4 separate regions of the Homo sapiens genome follow, and regions 1, 3 and 4 are each linked to region 2. Evidence: promoter capture Hi-C in 16 types of primary human blood cells and fetal thymus (Javierre and others, 2016). All regions are on one chromosome and are shown on one strand. Each heading gives the region's core, a stretch centred on a gene start or on the middle of the fragment in contact. The rest is flanking DNA. Distances are from core to core; before and after follow the strand shown. Region 1 has its middle 4.6 kb from the start of MIR4486. Region 2 holds the start of MRGPRX2 (MAS related GPR family member X2). Region 3 holds the start of NAV2-AS5 (NAV2 antisense RNA 5). Region 4 has its middle 9.3 kb from the start of NAV2-AS4.

What was found. Contacts are between HindIII fragments. The CHiCAGO score rates a contact against its expected background, and 5 or more counts as called.
Region 1: a fragment that was not itself captured here is called in contact with the fragment with the promoter of MRGPRX2 in region 2 in 1 of 17 cell types (erythroblasts); the score reaches 6.5 in erythroblasts.
Region 3: a contact is called between a fragment that was not itself captured here and the fragment with the promoter of MRGPRX2 in region 2, in 2 of 17 cell types (megakaryocytes and M2 macrophages). The highest score is 7.5, in megakaryocytes.
Region 4: a contact is called between a fragment that was not itself captured here and the fragment with the promoter of MRGPRX2 in region 2, in 6 of 17 cell types (M1 macrophages, megakaryocytes, M0 macrophages and 3 more). The highest score is 6.7, in M1 macrophages.

The regions. Positions count from the first base shown.
Region 1 is chr11:19,567,940-19,573,404 of GRCh38, reverse strand. It overlaps a transcript of NAV2 not described here. Among named protein-coding and RNA genes, the nearest start is that of MIR4486, 4.6 kb to the left of the region's middle. The HindIII fragment of the contact is 4,336 bases long and covers 843-5,178 here.
Region 2 is chr11:19,059,252-19,064,677 of GRCh38, reverse strand. MRGPRX2 (MAS related GPR family member X2) reads left to right here and starts at 3,961. Exons shown (of 2, transcript NM_054030.4): 1 at 3,961-4,059. The HindIII fragment of the contact is 233 bases long and covers 3,941-4,173 here.
Region 3 is chr11:19,506,023-19,511,438 of GRCh38, reverse strand. It overlaps NAV2-AS5 (NAV2 antisense RNA 5), which reads left to right and starts at 4,210. Exons shown (of 3, transcript NR_049725.1): 1 at 4,210-5,416. It overlaps NAV2-AS4 (NAV2 antisense RNA 4), which reads left to right. Exons shown (of 4, transcript NR_033989.1): 4 at 1-546. It also overlaps a transcript of NAV2 not described here. The HindIII fragment of the contact is 1,124 bases long and covers 2,579-3,702 here.
Region 4 is chr11:19,530,818-19,535,916 of GRCh38, reverse strand. It overlaps a transcript of NAV2 not described here. Among named protein-coding and RNA genes, the nearest start is that of NAV2-AS4, 9.3 kb to the right of the region's middle. The HindIII fragment of the contact is 807 bases long and covers 2,804-3,610 here.

The sequences.
Region 1 (5,465 bases), core at 1,761-4,260, 510 kb before region 2:
TAACAAAATGGTCAAAATCCCTGACTTCAAAGACCTTCCAGTTCGGAGTGGGTAACCAACAAAACAAATATGATAGTATGTCAGACAAGGTGCCAAGAAGAAAAAGGCAAAGCTGAGAAGATAGGTATGAAGTGTAGGGGCAGGGTAGCTGAGATTCTGAACAGGGTGCCCAGGGATGGGCTCACTGAGAAGATGACTTCTGGGAAAAGAAGTGCAGGAAGTGATGAAGGTAGCCACACAGATGTCTGGGTGGAGGTGGGAGGTAAGAATGTTCTAGGCAAAGGAAACAGCAAGCTCATGCCTGAAAGCCAGAGGAGTGCCTGCCGAGCCAAGACGGAGTCCTCACATGATTTCAAAGACAAAGCATTTCCTAAACAAGAGGTTAATGAGAAAATTAGATTGTGTAAAAATGCAATTTGTGGCCAGTTTTTCAAAAGGCATGCTGTTGACCCTGTTGGTTCTGCGGTTTGTTGTTTCTGGAAAGCGGTCCTTGGCAAACTTCAGCATATTCATATAGGTTTCCCCAGGTAATTATACTAATTAATATCAGCAATAGGAATTATAATCCCTGTCATTTATCAAGTCCCTACCATGTGCTGGGCAAAATTCTGGAAGCTTTTATATACACCATTATGATTCCCATTTTACAGATGAAGAAAATGAGGCATAGAGAGATTAAGCCTTTTAATCAAAGTCATGCAGCTCATAAGTGGGAGAGTTGGAGTTCAAACTCAGACAGACTGGTTCTGGCATCTATGTGCTGACCACCATGTAACTACCTTAAAAACATGGAAGTCATTATTATTACTAACAAGACGGGGTTGCCCTGGGCTGTCCAAGCTTTCTTGCTCTTCCCCAAAAGCCATGCTGTTTCCCCAAAATGAACACTCCAGAGCTTCCTGTTTAATCTTTTGCCCCAGGTCAAGTCCTTTTGTCAAGATATAAAATATTGAAGCCGAAAGGTTGCAGATAGAGTACTACAGCAAAGGGATGACAAAATTCCAATCTCTATTGCAGAGAAGGGTGGCTGAGCAAGGAATATGGCAAGCTGATGCCATATCCCCAAGTCTCAGTTTCCCCGTCTGCCAAATAAGAAGGGACGGAGGGCTTTAAGGCCTCTTCCAGTCCCTGATCTTAGAGTTCAGCGACACGGACCCTGGACCCTGACCTAAGCCATGGAGCATATTGTCAGGAGTGTTCAACTGACATCCGGAAGGCAGCAGCCTGGGCAAGCTGACTGTGTTGCCAGGCAGTGGGAGGAGCAGGCCATACTACCTAAGTCCATGGCTTGGGCCAAAAGAGCATCTTCCCATCTGCACCCCTGTGTCTGCCAGTGTTGTCCTGTGGTCCTGCCCCAGGTAGCAGGGGGCAGATGGTTCTACCTGCCAGTCTACTCATCCACAGGATGTCCCTAACACAGTGAGTGCTTAGAGGGTTGGGAAAGACCAAACCTGCCACAGTCTCCCCTCTCCTTCTTCATCCTCCCATCTCTGCACTTCCTATTTTGGGACTTCCTAACATATCTTATCATTCAGCCTTTGGGAAAAGCTGATTTCCAGTGGGAAGGGGATATAGTCATAATAAGTAATAGTAAAGGCACCATTTACTGACTGCTTTTCTGAGCTACACGTTTCTTTTTAATGAAAGTAAAATCGACATAACATAAAATTAAACTTTTCTTTTTTTTTTTTCTTTTTTGAGATGGAGTCTCGCTCTTGTTGCCCAGGCTGGAGTGCAGTGGTGCAATCTCAGCTCACTGCAACCTCCACCTCCTGGGTTCAAGCAGTTCTCCTGCCTCAGCCTCCCGAGTAGCTGGGATTTCAGGCACATGCCAACACTCCTGGCTAATTCTTATATTTTTAGTACAGATGGGGTTTCACTATGTGGCCAGGCTGGTCTTGAACTCCTGACATCAGGTGATCCACCCACCTTGGCCTCCAAAGTGCTGGGATTACAGGCTGGCACTGTGCCTAGCCGAAAAGTTTTCTAAAGTGTACAATTCAGTGACACTTAGTACTTTCATAATGCTGCGTAGCCTTCACTTCTAAGTGGTTCCAAGACATTTTCATCATCCCAAAAGGAAGCCTGTGTCCATTAAGGAGTCAGTTGCCATTCCTGCCCTCTCCTTTGCCCCTGGCAACAACTAACCTACTTTTGTCTCTCATGGATTTGCCTATTCTGGATAGTTCATAGAAATGAAATCATATAATATATGACCTTATGCCTGGCTTCTTTCACTTAACATAATGTTTTCAGAGTTCATCCATGTTGTGGCATTTGTCAGTACTTCACTTCTTTTTATTGCTGAATAATATTCCATTGTATGGATATACCATACTTTGTTTATCTATTAATCTGTTGATAGACATTTGGGTTGTTTCCACTTTTTGGCTATAATGAACACTGCTGCTATGAACATTCATGACCACATTTTTTAAACACTTGTTCTCAATTCTTTTTTGGTGTACGCCTAGAAGTAAAATTCCTGGGTCATATGGTAATTCCATGTTTAACTTTTTGAAATACCATCAACTGTTTTCTGCAGTGGCTGCACCATTTTACATTCCCACCAGCACTATAGGAAGGTTCTAATTTCCCCATGTCCTCAGAAACACTTGTTATTTTCAATTTTTTAAAAATTGTAGCCATCCTAGCGTGTGTGAAGTGGTATTTCATGGCGGTTTTGACTTGTTTGTCCCTAATGACTAATGATGTTAGCATCTTTCCATGTGCTTCTGGGCTATTTGTATATCTTCTTTGGAGAAATGTCTATTCAAGTCCTTTGCTCACTTTTTAATTGGTTTATTTATTTTAATCAGGTCTTTTTTAACATTGAGCTTTTGATATATTCTGAATACTAGACTTACCAGATATATGATTTGCAAATATTTTCTCCAAGTCTGAAGCTGTCATTTGGTGTAGAAAAGTTTTTAATTTTGATAAAGTCCAACTTATCCATTTTACCTGCTGTTGCTGATGGTTTTGATGTTGTATCTAACAATCCATTGCCAAATCCAAGGTCATGAAAATTTACCTCTAGGTTTTATCCTACAAGTTTTGTGTTAAGTGTTTTACATCTAATCTTCTTGACATCCTCTGGGTGAATTCCATCATCATCACCATTCCCATCTTAGAGACTAAGGGTCAGGGCATTTAAGTTACCTGCCTAATGACACACAGCCATGCAGAGCAGAGGCAGGGTTTGAATCTGTGTCTTCAGCTCCGGAGCCCAAGATGCCTATCATTCAGCCTCTCCAGATCTGCCTCCTGTTGCCCATTATCCCCTCATCTCCAATAATGTAGGTAGTGATAGGTAGTGATTCCACAAACAAAATGCTGGCCCCAAAATTTGAAGGGAAGGATGGAAGAAATACAGATGTTCCCCCTGATAGCTACAAGGAGTAATTCTGCTGCCTGGGAGGAAGGCTCAGGTGAGACAGCCACCTGGTTGAATACAAGGGGAAAGTCATCTTTACCTTTCAAAATTTAGCGTTAGTAGACTTTGTTGTGCTTTTGTACTTTCCTTCCTTATAAAGCAGCAACTCTGGGGCAGTGGGACAACCTCCATGAGCCATTTCATCTCATAACTCCCCATCCAGGGTGGTTAGGGGCAGTTCTCCCTCCCCAGGGAGCATCACATTGTAATCAGTTCCTGACAACGCAGCTCATTCCCCAGAGAAGGGGGTGAGATGTAGCCCTTTGCATCCTGATTCCTTGCCTTGAAGTTGACAGCAAACGTTCATTTACTGAGGTCTATTATGTACCAAGCTCTGTGCTATGGGGGCCACAGAAATAAGTTTTTCAAGTAGGCCAGCAGAGAATAGAGAGAGAGAGAGAAACAGCTGCCATAGTTTGAGGCAGAAGGCAGGATGGGACAGACCGAGATGGATATTAGGAATCAAATGTGGGAATATTCATTTATTCACTAAAAAAATTTTATGGGTTTTTCTTACATGCTAGACACTCTTTTAGATATTGGGATAAAACAGTGAAAAGACAGACAAGGTCGTTTGCCCTCATGGGGTTTACATTCCAGTGAGAAAGAGAGACAATAGACAAGGAACCAGCTTGAGATGGGATCAAGAAGAGGCTGCATTTGAGCTGAGCCCTGCAAAATGAGTAAGACATTAATGCATTGACAAGGAAGGGAAGGACATTCCAGACTAAGAGAAATGCATGAACAAGGGCAGGGAGGGATACAGCTCCTTGACATCTTGCAGGTGTATTTGCTAATTTCTTTATTATTTAAAACTTTTTTCCATGACTATAAACACTTTATTTTTATAAATTTAAAAAGTACAGAACAAGAAGAAAAATCATTTACCATTCCCTCACCCAGGATAATAAGTTTCATGACCATGCAGAAGCTGGATCCATTTGACTTCTCTGAAGTGCTGGGCCCAAGCATTCTGTGCTCAGCACCTGAAAAGCATATGCTGGGTGAGATAGAGCCTTGCTTTCTTCCAATGCTGCCTGTCACATAGAAGATGCGTAGGAGACCCAGGGCAGTACATCTGAAATGTAAGTTAATGACTTTGGCCCAATAACTCCTAATCAGATCCACTTAGATTAGAATTAGAGAGACCTCACCTTTGCATTCTCAGAGTGTGGCCAACGTGAATGGGGAGGTGACGTTAGCAGCACAGACTTGGGTTCTGAGACCTGGCTCAGCCTTATGTAACTAAGACCTTGGGCAAGTGCTCACCATCTTTGCTCCCCTTCCTTCAATGGGGGACTAAAGAACCGGGACTAGACCTACCTGGGAGGTGCTTTCATAAGAAGTCAATGAGATCAAGTCTGTGAAGTGCTTAGCAGGGTCTGACACAAACAGTGCTCCAGGAGAGAGCCTCTTATGCTCTGGACTTCTGGGTCAAGTTGGCTTTTGCCACTGTAAAGATCCATCTGTACAGCTTGGACATCCAGAACTCACAATCACAATCCAGAACTGGGCTCCAGACACACCCTCACCTCTAACTCTGCCTGCTCCATGTCCTTCCTCGAGTGTGAATCCTCCCAGGCTTCACATTGATTCCACAGCCCAAGTCTCTCACGTCTAGAGCCTCTCTCAGGGTCTCAGTACTGGAGCTCATTTCTACAAAAACTATTTTTACTGGGCATCCTTGCCTGAGCCTAGAGATCTCTGAGCCCCCAAAGACAGCCCTGGTGGCCTCCTAAGCTTCACAGAGTGATACTCAAAGGAAGAATGTGAGCTGTGGCTTGTGCCAAAGCCTAGAGAAGAATGTGCCAGGCCAAGGGAACAACAGGGGCAAATGGGCACAGGCACTGGTTCTCTGACTTGCTCATTCATGTTTCATCCATTCAACATTTACCGAGCACCTACTGTGAGCCAGGCGCTGCATCAGCTGCAGGATCACAGCTGTGAACAAGCACCTGCCCTCAGAGAGTGCACAGCCAGGGGGAGACAGAATATGAAATATGAAGTTACACTATAGTGTGATCGGTGT
Region 2 (5,426 bases), core at 2,712-5,211:
TCTCAGTCCCAAATCTCCTTAAGCTGATAAGCAACTTCAGCAAAGTCTCAGGATACAAAATCAATGTGCAAAAATCACAAGCATTCCCATACACCAATAATAGACAAACAGAGAGCCAAATCATGAGTGAACTCTCATTTACAATTGCTACAAAGAGAATAAAATACCTAGGAATACAATTTACAAAGGATGTGAAGGACCTCTTCAAGGAGAACTACAAACCACTGCTCAAGGAAATAAGAGAGGATACAAACAAATGGAAAAAAATTCCATGCTCATGGATAGGAAGAATCAATGTCGTGAAAATGGCCATACTGCCCAAAGTAATTTATAGTTTTAATGCTATCCACGTCAGGCTACCATTGACTTTCTTCACAGAAGTAGAAAAAACTACTTTAAATTTCATATGGAAACAAAAGAGATCCTGTATAGCCAGGACAATCCTAAGCAAAAAGAATAAAGCTGGAGGCAACACACTACCTGACTTCAAACTATACTACAAGGCTACAGTAACCAAAACAACATGGTGCTGGTACTAAAACATATATATCGACCAGTGGAACAGAACAGAGGCCTCAGAAATGATGCCACACATGTACAACCATCTGATCTTTGACAAACCTGACAAAAACAAGCAATGGGGAAAGGATTCCTTATTTAATAAATGGTGTTGGGAAAACTGGTTAGCCATATGCAGAAAACTGAAACTGGACCCCTTCCTTACACCTTATACAAAAATTAACTCAAAATGGATTAAAGACTTAAACATAAGACCTAAAACCATAAAACCCTAGAAGAAAACCTAGACAGTACCATTCAGGACATAGGCATGGGCAAAGACCTCATGAATAAAACACCAAAAGCAATGGCAACAAAAGCCAAAATTGACAAATGGGATCTAATTAAACTAAAGAGCTTCTGCACAGCAAAAGAAACTATCATCAGAGTGAACAGGCAACCTACAGAATGAGAGAAAATTTTTGCAATCTATCCATCTGACAAAGGGCTAATATCCAGAATTTACAAGAAACTTAAACAAATTTGTAAGAAAAAATAAACAACTCCATCAAAAAGTGGGTGAAGAATATGAACAGAGACTTCTCAAAAGAAGATATTTATATGGCCAACCAACATGAAAAAATGCTCATCATCACTGGTCATTAGAGGAATGCAAATTAAAACCACAATGAGATACCATCTTACACCAGTTAGAATGGAAATCATTAAAAAGTCAGGAAACAACAGATGCTGGAGAGGATGTGGAGAAATAGGAACGCTTTTACACGGTTGGTGGGAGTGCAAATTAGTTCAACCATTGTGGAAGACAGTGTGGCGATTCCTCAAGGATCTAGAACCAGAAATACCATTTGTCTCAGCAATCCCACTACTGGGTATATACCCAAGAGATTATAAATCATTCTACTATAAAGACACATGCACACATACGTTTATTGCAGCACTATTAACAATAGCAAAGACCTGGAACCAACCCAAATGCCCATCAATGATAGACTGGATAAAGAAAATGTGGTACATATACACCATGGAATTCTATGCAGCCGTAAGAAAAGGATGAGTTTATGTTCTTTGCAGGGACGTGGATGAAGCTGGAAACCATCATTCTCAGCAAACTAACACAGGAACAGAAAACCAAACACTGCATGTTCTCACTCATATGTGGGAGTTGAACAATGAGAACACATGGATACAGGGAGGGGAACATCACACACTGGGGCCTCTCAGGGGGTGGGGAGCTAGGAGAGGGATAGCACTAGGAGAAATACCTAATGTAGATGACGGGTTGATGGATGCAGCAAACCACCACGGCATGTGTATACGTAGGTAACAAACCTGCACGTTCTGCCCATGTATCGCATAACTTAAAGTATAATTTTAAAAAAATAAAATAGAACTTCTAGAAATTAGTAATATAAAAATTGGATTTAAACTTCAGTGGATAGATTAAACAGATGATTAGACACAATGGAAAGAATCTAGTTAACTGGAAGATACATCTGAAGAAATTACCCAGAAAGCAGCCTCAGAGACAGAGACGAGACATAAGGAAAAGGTTAAAGAAATAAGGATGATAGAAGAAGAGGGCTAACATATGTTGAATTAGACTTCCAGAAAGAGATAATACTAAAAGTGATAATGAGAGCTAATAATTTTATAGTACTTACTATGTGCTCCTATTGTAAATCATTTATATACATTAAATTATTAATCTTCACAGCAAACCTATAGATTAATAATGTTATCCCCATTTTACTGATGAGGAAACAAACATAACAGAGTTACAAAATCTGGCTAAGGTCCCATAGGAGAAATGCCAAGTAGCCTGGTCTTGTGTTCTTCACCGTTATGTTAATATTTAAAGAGATTATAGCATTAAATTGTTTAAAAATGTTAAATGATGATAATTTTAAAATCTAGGAAACTCCACAAATCCCAAACATGATTTGAAAAAGAGTCACCAGATACAATTTGGTGAGAATGTATCATAGCAGAGAAAAATAAAAGCTCTTAGAGGAAAAAAAGGCAGATCACCACAAGCAAATGGCAACCTGACTGATGGCCGCAACAGTAACCCTGGCAGTCAGAACATGGATCTTCAATGTGCTGGAAGAAAGAAACTATCACCCTACAATGCCATGCCTGGAAAAACCATCTTTAGAAGACGAGGGTGAAACAATGACATTTTCAGATAGATAAAAGGAGGCATTTACCATGCAGAGACTCTCACAGAAGGAACTCCTGAAGAATGTGTTTTGAGAAATGGAAGATATGAGATGTAAAATGGGAGGATGAGCAAAAGCATTGGTGATTATGTGGATAAATCTGAATAAACACTGACTATTTAAAACAATAATAAGTGTTTCATTTGTTGGAGGGAAACAGAATCAAAATCAAATAATAGAGCACAGTAGGTTAGACAGTAACAGAAGTTAAAGCTTTCTAAGGTCCTGCTGCTGCTCATGAGGAAAGCAGATTTCTGGGGACAAATGCATGGTTTACCCACTGCACCAAAGTATAATACAAGAAAATGCTGAGTCTCAGAACTCGCCTCAATCAACACATGTTCCCTGTCTGAGGTCACCCAGCTGCTCTGGAATGCAAAGGGGCATGATCTTGTATGGTGTTCATCATTGTGTCTTCATTGCCTGGAACGGTACCTGACATATCATAGGCAAACAATAAACAGTGTTGAATGAATGAATAAATGAGTGAATAATTTCTTCTGATTGTCTTAAATGCTTCATAATTGTTACTTATAACTCAATTTGGCTGCAGCATAGGCACATGAAAGGAAGTCATAGGAGATAAGGCTGAAAATATTGGTTGGCTCTAGATGATCTAAAAATAATCTAGCTAATAAATATCATGATGTAGAGGGAGAAACGTGACAGATGGTGCATGTGATGTGCTAAGTCCCCTATATTTTATAAGGAGACTCAATATATCTAGTTGTTAACATCGATAAATCAAAAATAGAAATGTTGTTTTATTACGCAAAGCTTTTTTAAAAAAAAGAATGGAAACTGTATGCAGTGGTTGCTTTTGGGGAATGAGACTTCGAGAGACTTTGCATTTCATTTTATACACCTTAGTGTCATTTGAAATAAACCTGATTTTGAAAGGTCAAGTAAGCCAGGGCCTTGAATGCCAAGCAGAAGAGGGCAGACTATTCTTTAGCTATGAAAGCTCACGTCGCTTGATTGGTCTGCTTCCTGGATGCTCATTGTGGGCAATGAAAGACTTCAGGACGGTGATTCCTTGCAGGGAGTGGGGCCGGAGAGGGTAGGGGAGAAACCAAGATAAGTGATTGGAGTCAGGGCAAATGCTGAGAAACATCTCATGTGGTTTCCTGTGTCATACTCTTATTTTCCAGCACCCTCTGTACAGGAAATCACAGGGTTGTTGAGCATCTTGATAAGCTTCACTCAGTCATCAGGTTTCACTCCAGATCCTGCAGGCATCTCCCCATCCTCAGCTGTTTGCCAGTCCCAGGAAAGCACTTCTCAACTCACCAACTCCAGTAGAAAGAAGGGTGTTAAGGTAAGAGTTTGTTCAAGAACCATCTTCTTTCAAAGGCAGTTTTGGTTTTTACCTTAGTCCACATCCTGATGAATTCATTAGGAAAAGAAGACAGGAAGCTCCTTTGAGGAAGCTTTGGATGCTGGCAGCTTAGATGCTGGGAGATCCGAATGGGGTCAAGCAGGTTCGTCCCACTTCTCTTCTATCTACCAATATTCTCCCCTTCTCTTCGACCATTCAAATCTGAAACTATGGAGAGAAAGATTTTGCTGATTTTAATTTAGGGGCAGGCTAGAATGAAGTCATTACTTCCCTAAGCTAAATTGTTATTTAAAACCTCAGGTTGCACTGATTTTCTTGTTATTCAAAAGGTTTTTCCTTCATATCTGTCATTGTCCCAGCAGAAAACACACATCACACACTCTAAAGGGGTAGTTTAGAGGAGTTTAGTGAAGAGACTGTTTACAACGGCGTGAACAGGGATTAAGGAATGATGAAGCCCTCAAAGGCAAGTGATAGTGGAGGGCTGTTACCGTTGCTAGGTCTGAAGTGATAAGGAGAAAGAGAAGTTCTGAGAACTCAGAATGTGCTGTAGCGGTAACTGTAACTGTAACTATAGCTGTGGCTACAGGAAAGGGCCACCAGGCAGGGCTATGTCCTTAGGTAGAAAAACACTGCCACTGCCAACTCACAGCCCTTCAGGGCGCAGGGAGAGAGCCAGGAAATTTTTAAAAAATCATCCCCCAATCTACTGTCAATGTGTCCCTTTGGCTGAAAAAAAAAGTCACCCTCCAATCTCCTGTCAATGTGTACCCTTTGGAGCCTGAGTGAAAGACAGCCCATTGACGAGGCACAGACATGTCTCCTCCCAGGATGCAAAGGCAGGTAGAGAAGGATGGACATGAGATCCTAATAGCAAATAGGAAAGTCCATTTCTTCCCATAGCCTCTTCTCAGTTTGTCTTTCCTGAGACTTTCTCTATTAATGTGATTGAATCAATTTCTCATTCTATCACCTCCCTTTTTTTTAATTGTTTGACCTTCCCATCTAGTGTCACTTCTTTGGACTAGTCTCTCACTATCATCATAAATGCCTTGAGAATGGAATGTGGTTGGGAAAAAAAGGGATTGGGAGTACATAGGTACTCCCAGCTATAAGTACACAGGTATGTGTAATGTAAGTTTATGATTTTGGCTTCTCTAAAAAGAAACCTATTATAGTGATAATCAAAAAGAATGTTTACTAGACTTGGGCTGATAACTCTAAGACATCAAACATCAAGGCTCCTTCCAATTTCTATTTCCCCATCCCTAAAGCGGTACCCTTACCCTCATGGTCCTACATGGCTCCCAAACACATCAGCATTCCAGCCAGAGAGAAGAGAAAAA
Region 3 (5,416 bases), core at 1,891-4,390, 450 kb before region 2:
AGTCACTCCCTTTCCCCTTTCCACCCCTCTCCAACATTAGGCAACCACTAATCTACTCTCTGTCTCCATAAACTGGTCTATTTTGGACATTTCACATAAGCCTCCCTGGATCCCAGTTTAAGCATCCTGGGGTTTGTCTGCCTGCCAGAGCCATGGTGCCACTGGGGCTACCTGTCCTGTGGGATGACAAGGCAGGTCCAAACCTTTGCCTGCTCTCCCATCCATTCCTTTTGTGTTAGTCCATGTGTCTCCCGACTGTTCTCTCCAACAACAACACAGACTGACAAAACCTACTGACTTGGAGTCAGGAACAGACTTTGCTATTTTCTGGCTGTGTGATCCTGATGAGTCCCTTGAACCTCCTGGACTTGTTCCTCAGCCTAAAAACCAAGACTAATAAATCAAGTCTATCTCACAGCCTTACGTGGGGATCAAAAAACATGGAGCATGTGAACACACATTGTACATCACGAAGCTGTATGCAAATAAATATCGTGTAACTCCAGCCCTTTTTGAGTTTATAAATAAAAGTGAAAACCTCATAACCCTAAGTCCTCCCCTTCCTTGCCTCTATTCCTCTGTGCTCGTTGGTCTGTGTGCCTACTACACAGCTGCCAAGGATAACTCAAGAGACCCAGCCATGAGAAGCAAGAAGAGAAGAGCTGACTACTTTCCAGTCCAGTGTCCCTAGATGAAAAAAACAAAATGATCAGCCCTGGGCTGGGTAACCTGTTGCCCGAAAAGTGCTGGCCCTGCCACAATACACAGGCACCATGCAATGACCAACGGACTTCGGGCTGGGGCAGTCCTGGGTAAAGCGCTGGCTCTGTTATGCCATCTCTGCCAACGTAATTAACCTCCTCTCACCTGTTTCCTCACCTGTACAATTTGGAATAAAAATATTTACACCCTTGTGAGGCATCTGCTAGGATCGCCCGACATAAGGGCTCAGCACAGAGCCTGGCTAATGATAAACAATGAATTGCAGCCACTGTGATTAATGCTGTCATGGTTGTAATGATTACTGCTGTTATCAGAGAAGGAGACAAGAAATCAGTATGGAGAACTGGCTCTCATGTAGGTTTCAGGACAGCATCCACAACCTCTCTGGACCCCAGTTTCCTCATGTTTAAAATAGACATAAAAATAGTAGCAAACTCATAGTGTAACTGTGAGGGTTAATGACTTCACACACTTAATGTGCTTAGAACAGAGAGCTATGGATTTATCACTGGATCTCCTAAGACAGTTTCCCTCATCCCCTCACAGATCCACAACCACTCCTGTGTTTCTTCCTCTCACGTTCTCCTCTATACAATCTCTCTTGGTCCCTGTTTTCCATTTAAAAGGTTCTTCTGGTATTTCTCCAACTTGCATAATAGCTTCTAGTTTTCCAATCTCATCGAACAGTCTGTTTGCACCTGCAAAAGTCAAAGAACTGAAATATTTGATAGATCCTCCTGGAAAAATGCTAATGCCCAGTAAAAGAATGACCCCAGGAATGAGAAAAGACCTCAGACCCATCCTTGAAGGTGGGTCCCTGCCTGCTAAACCCAGCTCATAACATTTTTTTTTTCCTATTTCTTTCCAGTTGGATGTTTTGGGTGAGATTAAAGCAATTCTAGCAAATGTCAGGGGCTCAACTGCCCAGTGCATTAGAATAAAATTTCATTTTCTCCTTAGAGTTTTAGGGGCAGTGATTCTAAGGCTTTAGGGGGGAAACATTGATGAAATCTAAAGAACCAGCAAAGAGAAGGTGGGGCAAACAATTATCTTCTCATCTTGCCTGCTGCTGCTGATTGCATTATCATTTATCGCAGTGCCTGCTCTCACCTAGGAAAAGCATCTTGCAATATCGGGTTGAATAAATATCCCAACCATCGGTGCGGGAATACAAGCCCAAATCAGCCAAATCTTCAGTGCATTTGCATCTAATCCCTTTATAATCCTTTCTATGGAATGCAGTAAAAGCTGAGCAAGACATTCCAGCCTTCCCTGGGTGCACAGGACACACACACCCTTGCTCAAACTCCATAATGTAATTATCCAAGGTGCCTCCTTTGAGGGTTTGGGGCCCCAGCACTCATGCTAATGACGTAGTTCCTGTCCAAGATGATTTTGTGCACTTGCATGCGCATGCACACACAGACACACACACCCACACACACAAACACACTAATAAACAATAGGGGACGAAACCTCCAAAGGAAAGTGAATGAGTTGGCACAGACCTTAAGGGTTGCCTCGCTCACTCATCCCCAACCCCATTTTACAGAAGAGGACACTGAAGTCCAGAGTAAGGGACTGACAAGTCCTAATGCTCTGTCCTTTTTCTGTTTCCTCATTTGTCACATGCAAATAATTTCTTCTATATTGCAGGGTATTTGAGGATACAATGAGAAACACAAGCCCTGAAATGTAGTAGATGCTTAATAATTTTACTTTCTGCTCTTCCTTCTCAAACTACCCAGTTATGTAATAATTTTGTTTTGTTTGCTTTCTCCTGAACACTTAGTAGGACCACAATATTAAGGAAGCTAGGAAATTTATGAAGGGCTCACCTTGCAAAGCATAAGCTTTTCCCCCAGGGCAGATGTTGAGATTTCGGAGGTTTTACTTGCTAGTTCATTTATTTAACAAATTCAGAGTCAGCCACTGTTACAGGCATTTGGGGATTCAATAGTGAATAAAACATTTATTGAGAGAGATAAATCTTAAATCATTATACTCATAATCATTTAATTAAAATTCTGATTAAGTGATACAAAAGGCAGACAGGTGGCTGTTGGAGTACAGGACGGGGAACTTAGAGACTGGAGTGGAGGATAATCAGGGAAGGCTTCCCTGAAGAGGTAACATTTACATGCAGGTATGAAAGGTGATTAGGAACTCGCCCAACAGTAAATGGGACTGAGAATGAGAACTGCGAAGAGAAGCCCAGGAGGAAGGAGTAGAAACATATGCAAAGGCCCTGAGGAGAGAAGGTACCTGCCACACTTAAATAACCAAATAGGATTAGCAGGAAGTCCAAGGGGCTGGTTTTGTGCTTGTATGCTTATTTGTTTTTCTTTAGTTTGGAAGAGGACAAAGGTCAGCATCCATAGAGCCCTGGGGAGGAAGGGCCATTAGAGTGGATAGTCAATGAGTCAGCCTTGACTCATCCTGACCCTGATTCTGACCCATGGATCAGGTCAGGGTAGGAGTTGCTGCAACTCCAGAGGAATCAGTAGGACAGCCTCAGGAAGAGAAGGCTGAACCCCTGAGACAGAGCAAGGCTGGTCCACAGAGCAGCCCCCATCAGCATGTGCTTATTAAAACAATCTCCCTCCTTCATCCCACCCCACCACTGCCCTTGCTATAAAAGGAAACATACTTTCCATTTCATCAAGGACCAACCTTTCAGAGCCAACTGAAATCCAGAAATGCATGTCTCTTAGGCTTCACGTATTTATTAATCCTCATCCCAGGGGCACTGTGTATAAGGGTTAAAAGCCTGGGCTCTGGAGTTAGACTGCCTGAATTTGAATCCTGACATTGTCATTTACTAGCTGTGTGACCTCAGGCAAATCTCTGAACCTCCGTGTCCTGATCTATAACTTGAGGATAACAATGGACTCACTGATAGGGTTGTTATAAAGATTAAATGAGATAATGTACACAACATAGGGACATATAGGTGGAAGCCTTCAATAAATGGAAGCTTTATGATGATTATAATGATGATGATTTCATTAATATCATCGGCATCATAGAAACCATGTAGTATCTGTCTATAATGCTCCAGAAACTGAGCTAAGCATTTCACATCCTTTATTTTCAATGTTCCTCCAACTTTGGTTTAATGATCCCCATTTTCTAAATAAGGAGACAGGCTCAGAGAAATTAAGTGATGCAGCTATTTAGTGACACAGTGCAGATTCAAACCCAGGCTCCAAAAGTAGTCTACCCTCCACATTTCTATACCAAATTAGCCACTTCTCATCAAAATCCTGTAAAATCCTGTTAATTACAACAAATGAGGATGAAGTCAGTTTATACTACCTGTTCATTAATTGGCAGATTTTTAACATCATTCCTTGTCCCAGGAGGACTCTCCAGGGGTCTATTATTACCATACAATTCTTTGGGGGAAATGAAACAACAGCTGGCCCTGCCAGTCACCATGGCAACACTCCTGTAACTACTAGAACCATGTCAACAGCAACTTTATACATACATACAGATTCCAAATTTGCACTTAACTGCTATATTATGTATGTACTTGTTCATGACACCACTTGGAATTCAGGTAGAGGTATTTTCAATCAGCTCCAACATCCCTTTCCTTCCTTGGATGTTTCCAAGACACCATCAAGCCAGGCACATTTAGGCAGAGAGGTTGCTGGGGAGAATAGAACATTGCCAAGCTCTGGCGCCAAATACTGCACTCTGGCAACGTGTAAGTGTAAGGCAGGCATTGTGGGTGTGTGACCTCTGCAATCACACAGGGCCTCATGCTCAGGAGGGCCCTGTGCTTGATTCAATACTCTGCTGGCCCCATCTTGAAATTCTTAATGATTTTTGAACAAGGGGCTCCACATGTCCATTTATCAGTGAGCCCCTCAAATTATATAGCCAGTTTTGTGTGAGGACAAAGCAATGGACAGATACTATGAAGCTCCTTTCTGGGTGGCATTTTCTCTTTCTTTTCTCCTTCCTTTCAGAGCTACCAAGTCACCCCACACTCTAGCTCAAGAGCTCTACCTGACCAAAACTCAATGGCCTTTCCTCAGGAAATCCAGCTATGCTAATGCCACCAGAACTGAGTCAGAACTCCTAACTCTACAAATATGGCTCCTCTGTATTGAGTGCCTGCTAGGTGCCAGGCACAACACTCAACTGGGACCAATATTATTTCTGATCTGGGAGATAGATAGGTATGATCAGCCCCATTTCACAGTTGAGGACATTGAGGCTCAGAGAGATTCAGTGACTTGTCCAAGGTCACACAGTGCATCAAACACAAATCTGATGAGCCTTCTCAAAGGCTCTTGATGCCACCTGCTTCCAGAACATTCTGCCACTCACTCTGCCTAGGCTGCTGCCCTGCCTGACTTGAGCTCAGGCAGTTCTGCCACTTGGGTCAGATCGGCTACAAGTCCTGGAGTATGGGCCCTTCCTAGCCCCATGCCTATAGTTTCTGGCTCCTCTTACCTCTTCCAGATTTGGATGAAAACACTCTCCAGCATGGGGTGGGAACTGGTCTCCTGAGAGGCTGCCATTAGGACTGGGTGATACAATCCTGAAGTGCAGAAGAGTTAACCCCCACTAGGAAAACTTTGACCAGTGGAAAATAGGAGTTGAGAGGGAGCAGGACACATACATTCCTTCTTCCTCTCTCCATGGACTGCTTCATGACAGTCTGCCTTGCCGCTCA
Region 4 (5,099 bases), core at 1,958-4,457, 470 kb before region 2:
TCTGCTCTGTTCTAGAAGCTTCAGCAAAAGATCTACACCCAGAAGGTCCCCATACTCAACCCTGGGAGGCACATTTATTGTGTGCTTTCCTGGGGCTCATTTGGACCACAAGAAGATGGATCCCCACGCTGTTGGGCGTTAATTGAGAACTTTAATTCTCAAACCCCTGAATCAGGCTTGATTGGGCCCACTGAACCCATAAGGCCAACAGGGAATGGAGTTCAGCTCAGGAATGATGAGACCCTGTGATCAAAGGAGGTGGAAGAAACCGCTGAGAGATAATTTATTAATAAGGGATAAATAGAATACTAATTAAGGCAGAGCTTTCAAGACGGCAAATTCCCAAAGTAAACCTTTAAGGAATGCTCAAATAATTACCATTTTAATTAAAAGTATATCACCCGGTACAAATGGCAAGCCACCCCTTCTCACCATGAGGATGGCCTGAAATGCAAAGCTGGCTGCATCTTCCCAGGTGCAAAGGCTGTGAGCTGGTGAGTGAACCCAGGTCAGGCTGAGCTGTAGTTCCCCACCTGGGCCTCCTCTAGGCTATTACTTGTTGGGCCTGGGGACTCCTCTTCTACTCCCCTGCAGCCTTACTCAGAGGGCAAAGTATGAGTGCATCTCCTGCTACCAAGGTTCCCACAGTAGCTGCTCCAAGTCCCAGGATTCAAACCCCCTTCTCTGCCTCTCTTTCCATTCCAGCAGCTTCCTGTTTTCCCTGGTTCCTGTCTCACCTGATCTCCTCAGAGCCACTGCCAAGCCACTCTCCACAGCCCTGCCTGCACAATCTTGCTAAAATGCAAATCTATCATGTCCTTCATTTGCTTGGAAAATCTCTACTGGCTCCTTGTTAACCACATCAACAGGAATAGCAATGATTTATTAAGCACTTATTATGTCCCAGGCACTGTGCTAAGGACTTATTTTGCACTCAAAACAGCCCTACAATGGAAATATTAACCACATTTCCAAAATGATAAAACTGAAGTTAAGAGATGTGAAATTGCTGGCCAGTCATGCAGTGCACAAGTGGCAGAGTGAAGATTTGAACCAAGGTCTGAAATTAACTTCAAAGCTTACATCTTAACTACTAGTCTACATTGCCTCTTGGGTCCTGTTTGCTATAGGTTAGGGTCTGTTTCCTGGCATGGAATGCAAGGTCTCTCAGTTTTCCTCCTCTACTCCACCTCCCTCATTTTCTGCTGCTTCAAACATTGCACAGGGAGCCCTGCTGCTCCAAGTTCCATGCCATTGCTCCTTCCCTGCTCCCTGGGAGCCATCCATGATCCCCTGTATCTTCTTGCATCTGCAGATACTGTGTGATCCTCCTTTCCTCAAACTGAAGATCTTTCCTCATCTGCAAGACAGGTTCACTTGTTCCTTTCTCTGTGCTCCTTCACTTCTCTCTCTCTCACCTCTTTTATTGCTCTCCTTCCATGAGACACTGAGCTCGTAGGAAGCAGAGACTGTGCTATTCAACTCAGCTCCTAGCACAGAGCCTGGTGCTGTTGAGTAGGTGCTCAACATGTGTTCACCAAAGCTGTTGGACCCATGATTACAACCATGCACTGAAGTCTGCACTGTGGGTACAGCAGGGGACAAACTGGATCAGGTCCCACTAGATCAGGTCCGTGCCCTCTGAGATCCCACAGTCTAATGGGGGAGACAAGCAATAAACAAATAAGCAAATAAACACGATGCTACCAGGGGTTGGCCAACACTCTGCAGGCACTAAGCAGAGAGATGCAGTAAGGAGTAACTGGAATGATAAGCAAGGTGGCCTATGACATGGGGCTGTAAAAATGGAGACCCAAATGAAGAGGAGCCACAAGGGTGGCATGGGGTGACAAGTGCAAATGTCCTGAGATAAAACAATTCAGTGTGTCTGTGGATAAGATAGTTCCCAGAGGCCGGGCGCGGTGGCTCACGCCTGTAATCCCAGCACTTTGGGAGGCCGAGGCGGGCGGATCACGAGGTCAGGAGATCGAGACCATCCCGGCTAAAACGGTGAAACCCCGTCTCTACTAAAAATACAAAAAATTAGCCGGGCGTAGTGGCGGGCGCCTGTAGTCCCAGCTACTTGGGAGGCTGAGGCAGGAGAATGGCGTGAACCCGGGAGGCGGAGCTTGCAGTGAGCCGAGATCCCGCCACTGCACTCCAGCCTGGGCGACAGAGCGAGACTCCGTCTCAAAAAAAAAAAAAAAAAAGATAGTTCCCAGAGGGGAGAGAGAGAGAGACAGACAGACAGAAACAGAGGGGGTGGGGGTAGAGAAAGTGCACGTCTCAGAGAAGGTTTCAGTATGTGATATTTCCAGGAGGACAATGACTGAAAAGACAGGGAGAACCTGGTTTCATTGGGGTTTCACCCAGCCCTGCAGGAGGATGCCAGAGGGAGGAAAATGCCCAGGAACACACATGCCCAGGACATGTGTGGACATGGTCAGCTGATGGCCTTTGTAGGAGGGAGAGAGAATTGTTTACACCAATGTTTGTCAGCCTTGAAGAAGGGGGTGGATATAATTTTGACCCCAAGAACATTTCACAATGACTGCAGATATTTTTGGTCATCTCAGCTGGGGATGGGGAGTTGTCGCTAATGGCATCTAGTAGGTAGAGGCCGAGGATGCTGCTAAATAGCCCACAATACCCAGGACAGTCCTCCATCACAAAGATATATCTAGCTCCAAACGTCAATTGTGCTGAGGTTAAGAAACCCCGGTCTACACTATATTCCTGGTTGAAATGTTGATGCATCTGACTCTACTCAGCTCCTTGATTAGTCCTAGACTGACAACAAGCTTTCTCCCATCACTGAAACTCACTCCAACCCACTTTTCCCCTTCTTCCACCTCTAGCTCAGGAAACGTTCTCACAACAACCTGACCAAAGGAATCCCATTCAGTACCACTATGTGTGGACACTGGTCCTTGACTAGCAAATAATATGGTCAAAGAGCACTAAACCGAGAGTCCACAGGATTGGGGATGAGTTACCTCTACACTCCAACATCAGTTGCCTTCCTTTCTGTTGACCTTTTTGCAGGAACACTCCATTCCCATGAAAGTAGAGGGTCCCCAGAGACAAACTATCTTCCCCTTGTATGTGGGACAACCCTTTGAAGTTGCCTCGTGTCATAAGAAGGGGTTGCCCTTGGGCTCCAGCCACATGCTACTAAGTTTAGCTCAAGAATTATGCATCAATCCCAGCAGGGAGGCAGGGGGCTTTAAGCCAATGGCCTGAAATACTCTAGTCTGCAGCCTGGCTCCACCACCGTGAGTAGCCTGCTCCCTTTTTGGCCTCAGTTGCCTCATTAGTGAAATGGGAATCATAATACATGGCCGTTTATGATGATTAGTGATTATATTAATATAAATCACCTAGTAGATGTTCAAAGTACTGCAGCTAGTAGTATTGTTATGCCTGAGCTGGAAGAGGAATTAGAAATCACCCTGTCCAGACTCTTCATTTTATAGGGGCAGATGTTGAGGCCCAGAGAAAGAAACAGATGGACTTTTTTTCTGGGTTTTGAGATGATAGAGTAGACATTATACTTGCATATTACTGATGAGAAAACAGTCCAGCAGTGAACCAGGCGAGCTGAAAAGCTTGGCCTTTCTGGGCAATGCCACACAGCTAGTGCTGGGTGATGCCCTGTGTTACAATTCTGGCCATCTGTGAGTCCTGAGTCCCCAGACCAAAGCCCTGCAGAGCAGCTCCACAGTGGCTCCTATTCCAGAAAAGATCTTTCACTGCCCAACTTTCCACTGGGCTCGAAATGGGCCATGAATCTCCCTGCTCAAAAATTTGCCATGCTAGTGCTCAGTCCTTTATACTTCTATTAGTTTCCATTGCTTTTAATGGCAAACACCACAATTACTTTTGCACCAACCTAATTTTTTTTCTTTCTCTTTATCCTCTATCACTCCCTTGGTGATTTCCTCAACTCTCACAGCTGTTAATACCATCCATATACTGGAAACTCCCAAACTTACTAAATCCCATTGACTCTAAACCACACATTTTTTCCACATTTTAATATCTCTGAAGTTGCAGTGTATCCTAGCTTAATGGACAGTGCTTTTTCTTGGTAGTAAATAAAATAATGGTCTTATAGTCAGTGGCCTCTTTGGTTTGATTAAATATTGGACATATTTACCCCTAGAACACACCCTTGAATTCCAAACTCAAAAATCACAATGGCTTTTCAACATGTCCCTTGGACTAGTAATAGACATCTCAAACACAAATGAGTCCATTTGAATTCCCAACCTTTCATTCTCCCCTGTCTCAGCAACTGGCAATCCCATCCCTCCAGTTGTTCAGGCCAAAATCTTGGAGTTACCATAGACTCCTTTCTTTCTCTTGTAATCTGCATCCAATCTGTCAACAAATTTTGCTGGCTCACTTAAAAATAAATTCTGAGTCCAATCATTTCCTACCAATCTGCTACCATTATCTGGAGACAAGAACTTCTTGTTTCTTACCTAGATTATCTCCATTGCCTCCTAACTGGCCCCCTGCTTCTTTGACTACCTACGGTCTTGGCTCAGAGCAGCAGCCAGAGTGAGCCTGTGATTAAAACAGCCTTAGCTCCCTGCCCAAATCACTCCCTGCCTCCTTACTCTGGTTCATTTTTAAAGTAACTTATAATTAGGTGCTATTACATATATTTCTTTCTTTCCATGTCTATCTTCTGTTTCCCCTACCAGAATGTGAGCCCCATGAAGGCAAAGATTTTATCTGTCATGTTTAGTGCCTAATCCCTACTCTCTAGCATAGTCTATATATTTCTTCAATACCTACTCTATGCCAGGCAATAAATACATAAATACATAGAAATAGTAGTAATCTTTGTTGGATGAATATTATAAATATTTGTTGAAATACATACCGATATTTAATAAATAAATACTAGTTGGTAAATGAAGTATATATAAATATTTGTTGAGTGAATCAGTTTTCACAGGATAATGCTTTCAAGGGAGCAATGACTTTGAAGTCAAACTAACCTGAGTTCAAATTCTGAATATACTACTTCGTGGCTGTGGGACTTGGCAGATTCATTTAAACTCTCAGCCTGTTTCTAATCTGTATAA